Linked DNA regions of Homo sapiens: region 1 is linked to region 2. Evidence: promoter capture Hi-C in human tissues and cell types (Jung and others, 2019). All regions are on one chromosome and are shown on one strand. Each heading gives the region's core, a stretch centred on a gene start or on the middle of the fragment in contact. The rest is flanking DNA. Distances are from core to core; before and after follow the strand shown. Region 1 has its middle 110 kb from the start of CRYBB2. Region 2 holds the start of PIWIL3 (piwi like RNA-mediated gene silencing 3).

Region 1 (4,961 bases), core at 571-3,070, 560 kb before region 2:
CAGACATGAGGAAGACATGACTCCCCTCCCCTGGTGTTTTCTTGCGAAATAGTTTGCAGCTCTGCTCCTACCATACGTTTATGGTTACTTCCTGGGCATCTGCACAAGTGCCAGTCACTGTGTGGGGCTGGGGATATGACAACAATGAGGACAACATCCAGGTCCAGAGGGATTCCAGCAGGGGGCGCACGTGCACACAGGGGAAGAGCGTGGCCCTGCACAGCCTGTCTAGACAGGATCAGCGCAGCAGGAACCGAGGGGCAGGGGTACCTCACTGTCCTCAGGAGCTCAAGTTCATCTCCAGGGACCCTGACTCAGAAGCTGGGGCAGCCTCCAGGATTGGTGTAGGGCTCAACAGGCTGGACAGGCTGAGAAGGGAACATTTCCACAACTAAGCTAGATCCCACCCCAGAGGCGACCTAGAACTCATCCCAGGGATGTGTTCATTACAATGCCCATGGGGCCTAACATGTTCGCCCCAGGACTGAGCTCTGGGATAAGGACTAATGAGGAAGACACAGTCACTGCCCTGGCAGAAAACACCCATAGCCAGGGTTCCTCTATCCACCCTGTGGGAAGACACAACACAGACTTTGACACTGAAGATTCCAAACCTTCTATAAAATAAGTGGAAACTGATGTACTCTGGATTCTAAGAAGAGTTGCAAGGATGAGCTGGACTCTGGAATCAGTCCCCATCCCTCTGCTGAGCTCATGGTGCACTGGCACTCGTGTCCCTCCTCACCTCCCCTGCTACTCGGGAGTGCTGCAGCTACAGGCCCAGTGCTAGGGGGCGCTGTCCAGTTGAAACACGTCAGCCAGGCACAGTGGCTCACGCCTGTAATCCCAGCACTTTGGGAGGCTGAGGCAGGTGGATCATCTGAAGGAGTTCAAGACCAGCCTGGCCAACATGGAGAAACCCCATCTCTACTATAAATACAAAAATTAGCTGGGCATGGTGGTGCACGTCTGTAATTCCAGCTACTCAGCAGGCTGAGGCAGGAGAATCACTTGAACCTGGGAGGTGGAGGTTGCAGAGAGTTCAGATCCTGCCACTGCACTCCAGCCTGGGCAACAGAGTGAGACTCTGTCTCAAAACAAACAAACAAACAAAACAACAAAAACACATTTCTGGGCCAGACAACCCTTGGTCAACAGTGTCTCCTCAAGGACCATTCCTCAAGTGACTTCCAGAAGAGGTGAAAAAGAAAAACTCATCTGTCCCAGCCCCAGGAAGATCAGGCCTGGGACCTGTGTCCTGACCCTGAAGTCCATCCCTGCTGATTTGTGTCCTGTCTGCTCCGTGTCAGAGAAGTGGGGACCTGATTCCTGTTCTGCCCCCCAACCAATTTCTGCTGGTGTCACTGCCATCATCACATACAGATGGAGAAGACAAGAGAAAGCAATGAAACTCCATTCTTGAGGCATTTAGGATGATGTCCATGCCATGCTTTCGGCAGACAGGAAGGCCAGGTCCTGTTCACTCCTACTCAGAAGGGGTCTAAGAGATATGAGTACTAACTGTGATATTTCTCCTCTGCTCTTCCCTTCCTTTTTTCTTTTTTTTTTTTTAAGACGAAGTCTCGTCCAGTCACCCAGGCTGGAGTGCAATGGCTCAATCTCGGCTCACTGCTACCTCTGCCTCCTGGGTTCAAGTGATTCTCCTGCCTCAGCCTCCTGAGTACCTGGCATTACAGGTGCCCACCACCACACCCAGCTAATTTTTGTATTTGCAGTTGAGACGGGGTTTCACCAGCTCGGCCAGGCTGGTCTTGAACTCCTAACCTCAGGCAATCCACCCACCTCGGCCTCCCAAAGTGCTGGGATTAGAGGCTTGAGCCACCGCGCCCAGCCCATGTCTTCCGTTTCTTTACACTGTGTGCGTCCATTGAGTCAGTGGCTGCTCATGCTCACACCAGCCCCCGACAGTGGGACAGTCCATCATGGGGATCAGTACATGGTGAGCGCTAAGCCTCACTAACGTAGCGATGCAGGAGGTCTCCAGTGAGATTGATGGGCACCAGGCTAACAACAATGTCCTCTGAGTTCTGATGTGGCACTGGCCCTTGTCCGTCTGCTATGGATTGGAGCTTTTTTTTTTTTTTTTTTTTTTGAGACAGAGTTTCACTCTGCCACTCAGACTGCAGTGCAGGGGTTCGATCTTGGCTCACTGCAACCTCCACCTCCCAGGTTCAAGTGATTCTCCAGCCTCAGCCTCCCAAGTAGCTGGGATTACAGGTGTGTGCCACCATGCCTGACTACTTTTTGTATAAAAATACAGGCTTTCACCATGTTGGCCAGGCTGGTCTCAAACTCCTGACTCAGGTGATCGGCTGTCTCAGCCTCCCACCGTGCCCGGCCATGGATTGGAGCATTTCTAAGGCTTGAGGTACTCATGTTACTAAATACAATGCAATATCTTCCTGATCCTTCCCTGCTTTGACCAAGTGCTAAGGAATGATCGCAGCACTGACAGATGTTGACCTGCACTATTCCATGTGATCCCTTACACTTCTCAGAATCTGTGAGCTGACCAGAAGCCTGTGGGCTTTCTATGTATATTTCACAGTAATGTCCATGCCAACGTCTATTGTTCCGTGTACCTTTTGCTACCCAGGGTTATGTGACCAATGGGGCCCCATTTGATGATGGGCAATGTTTGGCACGCTTATAGGCCATCCACTACCACTACCAGGGGCACACATAGGTGCTGGAACTCCCTGGTGTAGGGTCATATCACCAAGCCTGAGTGCTGACACAGTTAAGTAATACAGACCATCAACATCGGGACCCATTTCTGGGTTCACTTTTGCCTTTTCCATTCAGGAGGTCAAAATCTGGGTTCATTCCTTTCTGCACTCTCTCCATATAAGGAGTAGGGATATTAAACTGACCTTCAGGTACAGCTGTGGTGAGGGAGTAAAGAGGTCATTTATGTAAAGTGTATGGTGGTGTTGAAGTTTTTCTTCCTTTTTATTAGAAGAATGACATGACTCGGGAGGCTGAGGTGAGAGAACCACCATAGGCCAGGAATTCAAGAAAACTGACACTTGCACTGTGCTGGGCATGCGGGTCCACATTTTAGGGGAAAAACACACATTTACAAACACATTCACAATCACTACACATTAATTCATCCCTAGCTAACTCCCAACCCTCATGCACACAAACCCACACCATCTAAATGATACGGCTGTTTCCAGGGACTCCAGTGGATGATGACAGTTCTTCACTGAGCCATCTGTTTCTCACAGTGCACTCCAGGTCCTCACTCCTATCAGGAACCTGAGGCCAGGCAGGCTCTCCAGACAAAAGCAGGGAATAGAGCCCCCCACAACCCATCACTTAGATTTGTATCAGCAAGGGAGTGGTCTTAGGATATATACGGTGTTAGAGAAGAGAACAAGACACACTCGGGCCTGTCGGGGCAGGGGAAGGGAGAGCATCTGGATAAACAGCAAATGCATGCAGGGCTTAATACCTAGGTGATGGTTTGACAGGTGCAGCAAACCACCATGGCACACTTTTACCTATGTAACAAACCTGTACATCCTGCACATGTATCTCAGAACTTAAAAAAAAAAAAAAAAAAAACAAGTTAAAAAAGAAACGGCCGGAGTAGGCAAATCTACAGCAATAGAAAGTAGATGAGTGGCTTCCTATCGCCAGAGGTGTGGGGGTTGGAAAAAGAGAGGAGTAACCACTAATGGATACAGGGTTTCTTCGTGGAGGAATGAAAACGTTCTAAAATGAGATTGTACAATGGTTGCACAACCCTGTAAATACAGTAAAAACACTGAATCACCCACTTTAAATGGGTGAATTGTTTTGCATGTCAACTATTTCTCAATAAAGCTTTTTTTAAAAATAATAAATACATACGGTAGGAATTTTGGGCAATGGGTTTTCATGGAATATTTGCAAGTCCATGTTGGCTGGCAAATACAAAATTATTTTTCAAGAAGAAAAAGTTGCTACTAAAAAATATGCTCACTACCAGACAGTTTGTAGGTAATGCTGTCATTTTTTACTGTCATCATCAATTAGGCCTCAGTTGTTCATAAACTCATGGCTGGTCACTAGAGTCCATGACCAACTGAAGCTTGATCAACTGAAGCTTGATTGACAATGGCAATCAAAAATGATATTCACTTGATATTCCCCCCACCAAGAAAATTGTCTTAGTCATCTGTTATGTATATGGTCAGACTTTTATGTCTTCATTTCATTAATAAGGGAAGAAGCCCCAGAAAAAAAAAAAATTCTCTTCCAGATGAAGGAATGCATCTCACCATTTCAGATAACACCTCCTCCGCAATATCAAGCGCAATATCTTCCAGGTCCAGAACAGAAGCTAGGAGAACATAGAGTAATAGTCAGTGCATTGGTGCTTCTCAGGAATCCCACTAGGAGCCTTGGGGGATGTGGGGACCAGCGCTGAAGTCTATGGAGGTGGGTGGTTGACAAGCATGGACTGAGCTGCTGCTGGACCATTCTCTTTGGTGTGGAAGGAAAGCAAAGGAGAGGAGGAGAAATGTGAAATATTAGCGTTAAGAACTGATTAATACAGAAAGGCACTGTATGGTTCTGTGAGAGCATCTCCTCACACCTCCTGCCCATTTGAAGGTCCAGGCCAATCCCCTCATTTTTCAAAATGTTACAAGACCATTTAATTCTGTGGATTTACATATCCTGCTACTACATTTATCACCTATCGTGTTTTACTTTTTAAATTATGGTGAAGCATACATATTATTTTAATTATTTAGTGTACATTTCAGTGAGATTGAATTCAGTGAACTACATTCATGACGCGGTGTCAATAATGAGAAAAATCTAAATTCATACTCTAAGCTTAAAAAACAATTCTTGCAGAAATCAATGGAATAGAAAACAGAAAATCATCCGAGAAAATCAATAAAACAAAAAGCCAGTTCTTTGAGATCAGTACCATTGATAAA
Region 2 (5,074 bases), core at 2,478-4,977:
AAATACAAAAAAAATTAGCCGGGCGTGGTGGCGGGCGCCTGCAGTCCCAGCTACTCGGTAGGCTGAGGCAGGAGAATGGGGTGAACCTGGGAGGCGGAGTTTCCAGTGAGCCAAGATGGCGCCACTGCATTCCAGATTGGGTGACAGAGCGAGACTCCGTCTCAAAAAAAAAAAAAAAGAAATTTTGATAGTGTCCCACACATCTCTGAGGTTCAGAGAATTACTCCTCAATCTTTATTTCTTTGTTCGTCATATTGTATCATTTCTATTTACATATCTTCAATTTCACTGATTTTTTTCTCCAGTCTATAATTGAGTTGAATCAGTACATTTTTCATTTTAGATGTTGCATATGCATTTAAGATTTCCATTTGCTTCTTTTTTATAATTTCTTCTCTTCTGATGAAGACTTGTAGCTTTCCATTAATTTTAAGAGTACTTAGGCCGGGCGCGGTGGCTCACCCCTGTAATCCCAGCACTTTGGGAGGCCGAGGCGGGCGGATCATAATGTAAGGAGATCGAGACCATCCTGGCTAACACGGTGAAAACCCGTCTCTACTAAAAACACAAAAAATTAGCTGGGCGTGGTGGCGGGCGCCTGTAGCTCCAGCTACTCAGGAGGCTGAGACAGGAGAATTGCTTGAACCCGGGAGGTGGAGCTTGCAGTGAGCTGAGATCACACCACTGCACTCCAGCCTGGGTGACAGAGCAAGACTCTGTCTTAAAAAAAAAAAGAGTACTACCTTTATTTTATTTTTTTGAGAATGGTTATAATAGATGTTTTCCCTCTAAATTTTAAATCTAATTATAACTTTAACTAGAATTAAATTTTAACCAAACTTCTGATTAAAGCATAAATTGTCCCTTCATGTGGGTCTTTCAAGGCCGGATTTTTGATTATCTTTTCCCTTGAGAGTTGGTCAGATTTGTCTTATGTTCTACCGCATAATTTTGGAGAGTATCCTGGACAGTTTGCTTATTATATTGTGAGATTCTGGTTCTTACTAAAATCTGCCAGAGAAATGTTCATTTTGTTGTTGTTATTGTTGTCGTATTGAGCATTCAACATAGTTTAGGTTAAACCACATATTCTGTCTTGTTTTCTTTTCTTTTTTTTTTTTTTTTTTTTTTGAGACGGAGTCTCACACTGTCACCTGGGCTGGAGTGCAATGGCTCAATCTCAGCTCACTGCAACCTCCACCTCCTGGGTTCAAGCGATTCACTTGCCTCAGCCTCCCAAGTAGCTGGGATTACAGGCGCCCGCCACCACGCCTGGCTAATTTTTTGTATTTTTAGTAGAGACGGGGTTTCACTATGTTGGCCAGGCTGGTCTTGAACTCCTGACCTCGTGATCTGCCCACCTTGGCCTCCCAAAGTGCTGGGATTACAGGTGTGAGCCACCGTGCCCAGCCCTGTCCTGTTTTCTTTGACAGTTGTTCCAGTCTCAGTGCAGTTTTCAAGCCTTTGCTATGCTGGTGTATCCACTTGGGTAAATCTGGGAGTTGAGTGGTGGTTTATATTATAGTTCGTTTCTCAAAACCCTTGCTCTGCTTCTGTGCATGCATAGTTCAGGGTGATCCTAGGACTTATGTTAATTCATACATCCATTTAAGTGATCCCCTTTAGCTTTCTCCTCTGCAGGATTCTGCAGGGTTCCGTTTTCATGCTCCTATCAGTGTTGCAGCACCCGTGCTGCTGTGCAGTTACACGCGTCTAGGTCAGCCTTTCAAGTGAAGTACAGGAAGAAACAAAAAGAGATTTCCCCTATACTTTTCAGATGCAGAAGTCTCTTTCCTTTTCCTCTGCCCAGTGAGCCAAGTGATTTCTCAGGGCTTTAGGTCCCTCTGCCATTGCTGAGGCTGCAGGACAGCTTTGCAACTGGGGAGATAAAAACAAAACAAACCAAGGATGATCCCCTTACTCCTTGATGTGCAGGAGACCCCTTTCCCACTAGCCTAGCTAGAAATTTAGGTGGTTTATCACAGACTTTTTACTTTCAGTGCCTGCTGGACAGTTCTATGACTCCACATGCCCTTGGGTAAACCAGAAGAAAGAGGAGGAAAATTAACTTACTATAGTCACCCCATTGAAAGGGCCTTTGCAAAACTCATAACTGAGAAAATTATGACAGTGAAACAGATCAGACCTAACCGACCACACCTTGCTTCTAACGCCTAAGCTGTCTTTGTTCATTCCTGGGCATAGGCCAAACTAGTCTTGGGGAAGAATTGTTTATAGTTTAAATTCTGAAACAAAACTGATAATAGTCCTTTCCTGAAAAAAAGACGCTTCTTGCGTGGGGAACTGTCCTGCCTTTGTAGGACTAACAAATTAGCTACAAGATGAGAGATTACGGCTTAGGGGCCATGCAGCTTCTGGCCGCAAGAGTCTGAACCTCCCCAAGTTGCTTCTGGGAATAAAATCTCCGTTGCAAAACTTAAGATCAGTGCTTGAGATATTTTGCATACCCTGAATTCCGATGCAGCAGATGACACCACCCAGACTGATAATCTGGCTCAACCAGTCCTGCGATCTCATCCAGGAAGAGAAATCAGCAAGAACTCACTTCCACCCCCATGATTCCATCTCCAACCCGACCAATAAGCACTCCCTACTTCCTGAGCCCATACCCACCAAATCATTTTTAAAAACTCTGATCCCCGACTGGGCATGGTGGCTCACGCCTGTAATCCCAAGGTGGGTGGATCACTTGAGGTCAGAAGTTTGAGATCAGCCTGGCCAATATCATGAAACCCCGTCTCTACTGAAAATACAAAAATTAGCCTGGTGTGGTGGCATGCACCTGTAATCCCAGCTACTCAGGAGGCTGAGTCAGGAGAATCGCCTGAACCCGGGAGGCGAAGGCTGCAGTGAGCAGAGATCACATCACTGCACTCTAGCCTGGACGACAGAACGAGACTCCATCTCAATAAATACATAGAGATATAAATAAAATAAAATAAAATAAAGTTTCTTAAAAAAAATAGGAAATCTCCTGAAAAACCTTTTCAGAAAAATAGCCACAGGTGCATGTTTGGCTCGTGTTTTTCCCAGAAACAACCTAAATCTGGCTTGATAAACCTTGATTGATGTATTTGCCCCAGTCACTCATGTTGTAACCAGCAAAAGGGCCCAGCTGCTCACTGCTTGTAGAAAGAAGTCAAAATGATAATGACATGTGATTTAAAAAGAAAGAATTTTATAATCTATGCTAGCAAGGGCAAGAGCAGAGAGCAATTCCACTCTTCCACGTGAGGAAAGAACGCAGGGGTTTTTTTTGTTTGTTTTTTGCGACGGTGTCTTGCTCTGTCGCCCAATCTGGCTGGAGTGCAGTGGCGCAATCTCAGCTCACTGCAACCTCCGCCTTCTGAGTTCAAGCGATTCTCCTGCCTCAGCCTCCCGAGTTGCTGGGACTACAGGCACATGCCACCATGCCCAGCTGATTTTTTGTATTTTTAGTAGAGACGGGGTTTCCCCGCGTTAGTCAGGATGGTCTCCATCTCCTGACCTCGTGATCCTCCGGCCTTGACCTCCCAAAGTGCTGCGATTACAGACGTGAGCCACTGCGCTCGGATGAACGCAGGGGTTTTTATTTATTTTATTTTATTTTTTAAGATATTTATTTATTTGTTTATTTTTTGAGACAGAGTCTCACTCTTTCACCCGGGCTGGAGTGCAGTGGCGTGATCTCGGCTCACTGCAAGCTCCGCCTCCCGGGTTCACGCCATTTTGCTGCCTCAGCCTCCCGAGTAGCTGGGACTACAGGTGCCCGCCACCACGCCCGGCTAATTTTTTGTATTTTTAGTAGAGATAGGGTTTCACTGTGTTAGCCAGGATGGTCTCCATCTCCTGACCTCATGATCTACCCGCCTCAGCCTGCCAAAGTGCTGGGATTACAGGCGTGAGCCACCGCGCCCGGCCAAAGCGGTTTTTAAAGGGAGGATTTGGAAGGCAAAAGAGGCAGGGGGACTGGGAGGTGTCAGGTGGTGTGACCCCCTCCAGTGGCTTGTCCTGAATTATTTTTCCATCTGTGGAAGTGGCCGGCGTCATCATGGCTGGAGGAGGTGCATGGTTCGTATCAGGATCTGACTACTGAAGCTTCTAAGGAAATATGTGACCAGATAAGTGAGTATGGTGTGTGCTTACCAAACAACTAGGTAAATAAATGTGCATAAGGCATGGGGGCATAGAACAGGAAAAGAAAGGGGGTGGAGGTTCACAGCACATTCCAAGGCTGGATTTCAAGAGGAGAGGAAACACGTCTATACTTTGTCTAAGTTACATCTTCAGATTAGCAGAAGAGAGGAAAGGGGAAAGGAAAAAAAGTTTTAAAATGCGGTTTGAGGTTAGGCTGCTAAGCTGCTGGGTTACAGATTCAGCTTATATTTGAGCATGTGGAGTATGTATATTTATTTTAAAAATCTAGAGCATCTTGGTCAGCCACAGTGGCTCATGCCTGTAATCCCAGCACTTTGGGAGGCTGAGGCGGCTGGACCATGAGGTCAGGAGTTCAAGACCAGCCTGGCCAAGATGGTGAAACCCCGTCTCTACGAAAAATACCAAAATTAACTGGGCGCAGTGGCGGGTGCCTGTAGTCCCAGCTACTTGGGAGGCTGAGGCAGGAGGATTGCTTGAACCTGGGAGGCGGAGGTTGCAGTGAGCCAAGATCGCACCACTGTACTCCAGCCTGGGCAACAGAGTGAGTGAGACTCCCATCTCAAAAAAAAAAAAAAAAAAAAAAAATCTAGAGTGTCTTGTACATATCCTTTAATAACCTACTTTTAAAAACTTAATATATTTTAGATACATATGTATATGTGTACCTACTTACATCCTTAAAACTGACGTGATGATAAATAAAACCGCGGAATTTCTATCAATATGTAAATGCTCTTCTCAGAAAAGGCGGGCTCTTTGCTCCTGTGGTTGATGGGGATGATGCAGATGGTGGCAGAGGCTTCCATTTTTTGAGCATTCGTTGTGGGACCTGCCAGTGCTTCAAGCTCAATACACCTTCTCCCATTTAACCCTCACAGCTCAGGAGGGGGTCCTGCCGGGACCTCCACTGCAGACA

The links. Contacts are between HindIII fragments. The study calls those that stand out against the background at their distance.
Region 1: a fragment that was not itself captured here is called in contact with the fragment with the promoter of PIWIL3 in region 2 in 2 of the 25 tissues and cell types used here (dorsolateral prefrontal cortex and mesendoderm cells).

What each region holds. Positions count from the first base shown.
Region 1 is chr22:25,329,480-25,334,440 of GRCh38, reverse strand. No RefSeq gene overlaps it. Among named protein-coding and RNA genes, the nearest start is that of CRYBB2, 110 kb to the right of the region's middle. The HindIII fragment of the contact is 8,465 bases long and covers 1-4,961 here.
Region 2 is chr22:24,773,373-24,778,446 of GRCh38, reverse strand. PIWIL3 (piwi like RNA-mediated gene silencing 3) reads left to right here and starts at 3,727. Exons shown (of 21, transcript NM_001255975.1): 1 at 3,727-4,125. The HindIII fragment of the contact is 9,839 bases long and covers 1-5,074 here.